Linked DNA regions of Homo sapiens: region 2 is linked to region 1. The links are contacts of gene promoters, found by promoter capture Hi-C in human tissues and cell types (Jung and others, 2019). All regions are on one chromosome and are shown on one strand. Each heading gives the region's core, a stretch centred on a gene start or on the middle of the fragment in contact. The rest is flanking DNA. Distances are from core to core; before and after follow the strand shown.

Region 1 (3,648 bases), core at 861-3,360:
ACCCACTACAGGAATAGGATGGGAAAAGCTGCAGGAAGGAAGCTGTGGTTTTTAACCCCAGCTTTGCATTATAAAGAATTACCTGGGGAGCTTTAAAACTATATGCTAATAATCAGGACACTCTAGGCCAATGAGACCAATCTTTGAAGGTAAGGCCCAAGTGACTGATTTCTCAAATGTGAAGCCAGGGTAAGAAACACTGAAATACAAGAAAAGCTGAAAACCCAGTTGGAATATTTAAGGCTGGTGCTGTTAACAAGTGGGAAAGGAAAGTTGAGAGACTATTTCAGTAAGAAGAGTGCCCAAGTTTGAGAGGAATCCTGAGTGGCAGTTAGAGGGCTCTATGCAAAGAAAAGCAATAAAGAAGGCAATGCATTTGAGAGGAACTAGTCTAATTCTGAATAGAACATGGCCCAATTTAAGGAAGATTTACAGGGAATGGATCTGCTTGCAAAATAATGAGGCCCAAGTGAGAGGCAGAGGCCATAAGGCCAAATCTGGGGACAAAAGGTCTGGTGTGGGGAACTAATGAGCTTCAGACACGGTTTGGACAGGACAGCAACAAGTTTGGGGAAAAAATGAGGAAGAGAATTAGGTCCAAATTGTAAATGAAAGCCATTCTGATGTATAAGGAGCAACTAGGATTAAAAATTCCGGGGAATTAGGAAATTGTGGAACAGTTTCAGAGAACAGAGGCAGAAATATGGGATATATTAAAATTTGAGGGAGAGATAGGTGAGAAGGGTTGTCTTGGAGAAAGAGAGGCATGTAGAGAAAGGAAAATTGAGGAACTATCTGCAGGGGGAAGGATATACCATGCAAGTTTGGAAAACCAGGGTGCTCGGTCTGAGAAAGATGTGCAGCCTTTCTCTAATTAATGGGGGAAGACTAGGGTCGGGTTTTGAGGGAGGAAATTGCAAAGATCTAGTGTCCAGAATATAGAGCTTGGTTTGAAGGCACTGGAGGTACAGGGGGAAGGTTCACTGGAAGCGAGATGGCTGGGTCCTGTGATCTAATGATCCAAAGACGGGATTCAGTTAAGAGGGGAAGGAGAAGGATGAGTTCCAGCTGAGAAAAGATGTTTAGAGGGTAAGAATGTTTCCAAGAGTGTTGGGGGTATACCATTGGGGCAACAGGATGGAGCACAAGAATCAAACCTGGTGTTTGATAAATAAAAGGAATGGCGCTGGGAGACTGGGAAAATGGGGCCTAACTGGGAGAGGGGTGTGGAGAGGGGAAGGTGGGGGAAAGATGAAGCTGAAGTATGGGACCAGGAGGAAGAGGCTGGACATCTGTGTAAGGACTGCTAGGCCTGAAGAGAATGGGGGGAGGGTGATGAGTGGGGGTAAACTGAGAACTGAAGGATGGAGGTTGACTTTGCGGGGGGCAGTGATATGAGAAGAGTCTGGGTGGGGGGTGCAGTTTTCATCAGGGAGGGAATTCAAAGGGAAGGGTGAAGTGACTTATAAGGGGAGTAAGAAAGATTTGAGGAAGACAGGAAACAATTTGGGGAATCTGGATGCCGGGGAAAGCCCAGTTTGGGGAATGGGGCACAATTCGGTGGGGCTGAAAGAAAAAAGGGGACTTGCTTGGAAGGTTGGGTTCCGGCTTTTGGGGGCTTTAGGGGAGGAGAAGGCCCGGATGAGGGGGATGGGCCCGGCTGAAGAGGGGGCTAAAGGACAGAAGAAGGCCCAGTTGCAGGGCTGAGGACCGGACTAGGGTGGCTGAAGTGGTGAACGGACCTGGCTGGGGGCGGATGGCCCCGCTGCGGGGGGCGGGGGCCGGCTAGGGGTACGTGAGAGGCCCTCTGGAGCAGATGAGGGAGGATGGGGGCGGGGAGCCTGGGCCGGGCCGTTACCTGTCCTGGGTGTTTATCATCCTCGGCGGCTCTGCTCAGGGTGGGAGGAGGCGGCGCAGGGAGTGGATAGATGGATGAGTGGGTGGGTGTGGGGTCACGCGCGCGGGGTCGATCTCTGCGGGCTAAGTCCCTGTCAGGCCGCGGGCCGAGCGCCTCCTTTTGCCTCAGCGAGCGCCTGCCTCCAACTGACCCTCCCCGGCCGCCACCGCCGCCGCCGCCGCCGCCGCCCCGCCCCCGAGTGCCTCATCTGCATAGCCCCACCCCAGCGCCGCGCGGTGTCCTGGGAAACTGGGGCCCACAACAAAGGGCAAAGCACCGCCCCGCCTCCGCGCAGGCGCACCACGGACCGATCGTGGGGGTAGGGCTAGGGGGTCCGAACGAAGGGCAGGCTGTGCAGGAGGCCATGACCAAGGCGGTGGGTCTGCCCGCAGCTGCGGCAGCGCGGCCCAGAAGATGCGTTGTGTTTCCGGTAGTTTTCTGTGAGGATTGACTCAACCTGGTCCTCATCCCTATTCCTTGTTGGCGTGGGGCCGAACAGGGCTGTGCCATTTGGGAGGATATTAAAACAAAATCAGAAATCTTAAGAGAACTACACACATATTAGCACCATTCCTAGTCTGAGTCCAGGCCCACAGATCTGTTATCTCAGCTCATAATGCAGATCAATAACCTCAGCTGTCAGGGTAGATCAACAATCTCAGCATCTCGCACACATCTCATGTCAATCGTCAAGGCTGCTCCAAGCACTGGCTTAGGTCATCTGAAGCCAGAACTCTGTAGATCATGAGCACAGTCACAACAAGACAGTCGTGGAAAGCGTCGTCACTAACTTGTTCACGGTCACTTCAGATCACAATCAGTGCAAGTTACTTCAATCGATCATGCAAGGTTACTAGTTCAGTCACCTCCATTCATTATCCCTACTGGTCCTTATGACAGATTAGTGCCTGAAGGCCACAGTCACCGGTGCGCAGACCCCTCAGATCACAGTCCTTGTAGGTTACAATCACAGACACTTCAACACAATCATCAAAAGCCCCGACTCTGTTCACAGTCAACCCAGATTGCAATCAAGAGAGGTCACATTATCTCAGATCACAGTGGGTCACTCTGTCACCTCAGATTACATCCATTCAGTTATTCAACAAATAATTATTTTATTTATTTACTTATTTTTGAGATGGAGTCTCTCTCTGTGGCCCAGGCTGGAGTGCAGTGGCACAATCTCAGCTCACTGCAACCTCCACCTCCCGGGTTCAAGCGATTCTCCTGCCTCAGCCTCCTGAGTAGCTGGGATTACAGACATGTACCACCATGCCCGGCTAATTTTTGTATTTTTAGTAGAGACGAGGTTTCACCATGTTGCCCAAGCTGGTCTTGAACTCCTGACTTCAGGTGATCCACCTGCCTCGGCCTCCAAAAGTACTGGGATTACAGGCATGAGCCACCGCACCCGGCCAACAAATAATTATTGAATAGCTACTTACTGTATGCTCCAGGCATGTGCTAGAGTCCAAGAATACGCCATAATCAACCAGGCAAGGTTCCTGCCTTGGATGTCACAATCCGGTCAAGGGGAGAGACACAGGTCATCACAATACCAGGTAAGTAAGTGCTCAATCTGAGGAATGCCACAGAGAAAGTAATTTAGGGAATTAGGGACAGCTTTGCAGAAAGAGTGATAACTCAGAGAAAGGGTGACACTCCAGATCGGCGGTCACTATGACTTTCAGTTCACAAACATCTCACATTGGAGTCATCTCAGGATATGGTTACTCTCCTTCACAAAC
Region 2 (3,792 bases), core at 1,244-3,743, 1.2 Mb before region 1:
ACACTCTGAATTGAACCCATTTTATGTAGGCCTCCCGTCTTAACCCGTTGGCATCCATTTGTTGATATAATCTAGCGTTATTGTATTAAGCTTGATCTTGTTCTTGCGTGCCTGTCGTTTCAGTGATTAAATGATGAATCTGTGAGTCCTTAACTAACTCATTATCTTGGAGTGTTATATAGTCGTATTTTTTTTCTCCCACACTCTTGATTTTATTTTATTTTTGTTTTTTTCATAGGGGACCAAAAGGGTAGCCGATGTGTTGACTAATACTGTGACTGGGTATTGAATCTGATTATGTTCTTATTAAGGAGGGGAAAATCCCTGTTTTGGCACTGGGACAATAAAAGTAATGCCCTTGCCTTATTTTCTTTGCGAGTTTGCAATTATACCACGGTAAGACAGCCAAGCAAATTGCAAAATGCCACAACATTCTAGGTTCTACCAGTTAGCAGTACCTAATTGGACAAATAGTTCTATTTTCTTTGAGTATCAGTTTCCTTATATAATCTGCAAAGAAAAGGGTAATACTTTGCATTTACTTCACAGGTTGCTGTTAGGATGAACAAGGTAATTTTTTGTGAAAACTTTGAGAAACTTGTATACACTGTTCTAGTAATAGGTGGTATTAGAGGTCAGAACATCTTTGTAAAGAGGACTCTGAATAATTAAATATCCAAAGCCCATTAAATGGGGACTAGAACAGACTGGCTTTATGCTGAATGATGCTTTACAGGGAGATACAGAACTCAACAAGATTACAAGAAGTAAGAAGTAATTATACTTCAGAATTAGCATGAGCTTCTTATCCATGGAAGGCACTGTGTGTTGGGTTATATAATTGTGTATGACAGTGGTTCTTACACTTTTTGATCTTAGGACCCCTTTACACTCTTAAAAATTGTTGAGCACCTGAAGAGCCTTCGTGTAGCTTATATCTGTTGATGATGTTTATTAGAAATTAAAACTGAGAAAAACTTAAAATATGTATTTATTAATATGCTTACAAATAATAATAGACCCACACCCATAACATAAATTGACAGTTTATGTAAAATGTTTTTCAAAACAAAAATTTAGTGGGAAGAATGGCATTATTTTGCCTTTTTGTAACTCTTTGTTCAGCTTTATAGAAGACAGCTGGATTCTTACATTGCTTCTGCATTCAGTCTCTTGAGATGTCACATCATGCAGCCTCAGGAACACCCCACTGCATGCTTGTGAGAGAATGACTGTAAACAAAAGTAACATCTTAAATATTATGTATGAAAATTGTTTTGACCTTCTGGATCCCCTGAATGGGTCCTGGAAACTTTCAGGGGTCCAGGACCACACTTTGAGAACCCACTTGTGTAAGCTATAGTTAACAGTTAAGGATACCTGCTCATATCAAAATAACTTTAAAAAATTAGAGAAATCCTTAAGGCTACCAACGTTTATGTTTCTGTAGAGACCTGAGGTTTTTGAAATGTATTAGCTGGGAAATAGAGCATGGGCTCTAGTAGTCCTTTGCTGCCAAAAAAGTTAACAGTCTAATCTAGCTGGGGGAGAGACAGGAAGCTAACTAGTTAGAAGATACATCCATGTGGTTTAAGGTAAATGTTGAAAATAGCTATCTCCTAATAACGTAAAGGCTGATTTATGTCTAATTGTTGCTTAAGGGATTCTAGTTTAAAATGAAAAAGTTTTAAATAAAAGGGCATTCTCTCAAGCTTTTTGTTATGTGCACATACCAGATGTTATTTTCAGAAGTTGGAGGCTTGGGCATTCCTTATTTTTGTGGGTAAAAGAGTTTAACCAGTGGGAAAAAACAAAAATTGTTTAAAAAGATGCCCTGAATGCAAGTGTTTTGATAACTAAGGAAAGCCAAGGACCAAGCATTTGAACTTGAGGGTTTGGGTTAAACAGCCAGTTAAATTAGAGATATTTAGTAGGATAGGCATGCTAATTTTTCCCTGATTAATTCTTCAATGAGTTGAGAGTGCCTCTTTAAGTTTTCAGTACACACTTGCCTTCATATTACTCTACCCAAGAAAAGTAAGTGTAGATCAAGTAAATGTTCTGCAATTTTGCACCAAAAACTGCAGATAATTCCACCCAAAATACTGGAGATAAACCCTTTTTTAAGAGATCCATTCAGTAGGATGAGGTGTTGATTATTGGTTGTCAGTGGTAATAAATTTGTAATGGACTGATCAGGTTGTGATAAAGAGAAGAAATCAACCTTGATGGAGTGATGGGTTATTTTGTATCGTATTTCTCCACAACCTACATTTAACACTCGTTTGCCCAGTGGACTAAATTTTCTAAATACAATCAGTCATTTCCTTGTCATTAGGTCAAATGCTTTTACTGCTTTTTAGTAACATTCTATGATGTCTTTATTAAGTGCCTAATACTTAATAGAGCAATTAGTAAATATTTGCCTGATAAATAAAGGAACTATCACTTAGATGTGTCTGGCAGGGTCTTTATGTTGAAAATAAACGCAGAGTGAACTTTCCCCAGAATGCTTTCACTAGCCCGCACTCCCAGTATTTTAGTCAGTAAACGTTGGCTGGATTGTGAGCAAATGACCATCTGCAGTGTTGTTATCACAATGAATTTGTGTTCTTTTGGCAGTCTGTATTTATAGATGGGCAGGTGGACAATTTAGTTGTAAATGTGGATGGGGTAGTTAAAAATCAGTGGACAGGTGATACTTTTTTCACATTAATTCTAAAAAGTAGTATTTGAGTTTTATATATCCTTCTGAAGAATTTAAACTTTTTTGGTAATATTTATAAAGCTTAAGTCAAATGTCTTTCTAGTCTTTCTGCAGTATTCCTCCCCAACCCCGTCCCCCAGAATCTTAGAGCAATCTCAGCTTATTTCTAGAGTCTCTAAATGATTGCTCATGGATGTGAAATGTGTGAAATTTAGAATGTGCTCCATGTATGTGTTTTGTTTAAAGAAGCTTCAGTATAGAGATTGAGCCTAACATTTACTTGTTGTGAAGAAGTTTTGACACATTGATGAGAAGTTCTTTCCCTAATAATATGCTTAATAGTGTATACAGAACATCCTTCATGGTCTAAGCAGAAGAAATGATGGAGTTGGGGGAAGAATTCGAACTCTTTGGTGTGGTTTCCTGTTATTTATCCTCAAAATAATTTATTCTCATTCTTTGCTTGTACACCATTAGCCTTAGGCTCGTGTAACAGCCTCCTTTTTCCTCATTGAAATGTATGTAATTTCCTTCTCCACTGGAATATAAAAGATTGATTTTGGATCCTTCAAGCTAGATTTAGAAATACTTATGTTTTTATAGTGTTTGCAGCTCAGTGAGTAGACCAGTGAGTAATTTAGTGTGTAGCTCAGTGAGTCATTTAAATTCCTGTTTTAAAATTTGAGTCCCTCTTCCATCAGGAGCTGATTAACATGTACATTTCCCCTAACCTAACCTGCTCGTTTTTTTTCTTTTTGAGCTTTTCTCCCCTTCTTGAGCTTGTTTGTTTGTTTTTAATATTTTTCCTTCTTTGAAAACAAAATGTTAGTCTCCTTTGATTAAGCTGCAGTCTCTGACCTACATACATACAGGTTTGTGTTCAACCAAGGCATTGAAATAAATAGATTTAGTCGGTAGATTATCATTGTTTGAAGTGGAAAAGGTATGCTGTTTAACATATTTTGATATTTTATGTTTATTCATTGCCTCTTTAGACAGGAGAGCAATTGCATTCTAGGTGTGTTAATAGAGCTTTCCTGGACAGATGGCTTGGAAGGAAGTACTTTGATGGGTTCTCAGTAGGG

The links. The method cuts DNA at HindIII sites, captures the fragments that hold promoters and counts their contacts. A contact is called where the count stands out against the background at its distance.
Region 2: a contact is called between a fragment that was not itself captured here and the fragment with the promoter of OAZ2 in region 1, in 1 of the 25 tissues and cell types used here (aorta).

Annotation. Positions count from the first base shown.
Region 1 is chr15:64,701,171-64,704,818 of GRCh38, forward strand. It overlaps OAZ2 (ornithine decarboxylase antizyme 2), which reads right to left and starts at 2,111. Exons shown (of 5, transcript NM_002537.3): 1 at 1,859-2,111. The coding sequence starts at 1,878. It overlaps LOC124903507 (a long non-coding RNA gene), which reads left to right and starts at 3,373. Exons shown (of 3, transcript XR_007064679.1): 1 at 3,373-3,462. RefSeq lists an enhancer at 1-68 and silencers at 1,697-1,916, 1,927-2,246. The HindIII fragment of the contact is 8,869 bases long and covers 1-3,648 here.
Region 2 is chr15:63,506,880-63,510,671 of GRCh38, forward strand. The region is part of intron 1 of USP3 (ubiquitin specific peptidase 3); the gene reads left to right. Among named protein-coding and RNA genes, the nearest start is that of USP3, 4.2 kb to the left of the region's middle. The HindIII fragment of the contact is 3,184 bases long and covers 902-3,792 here.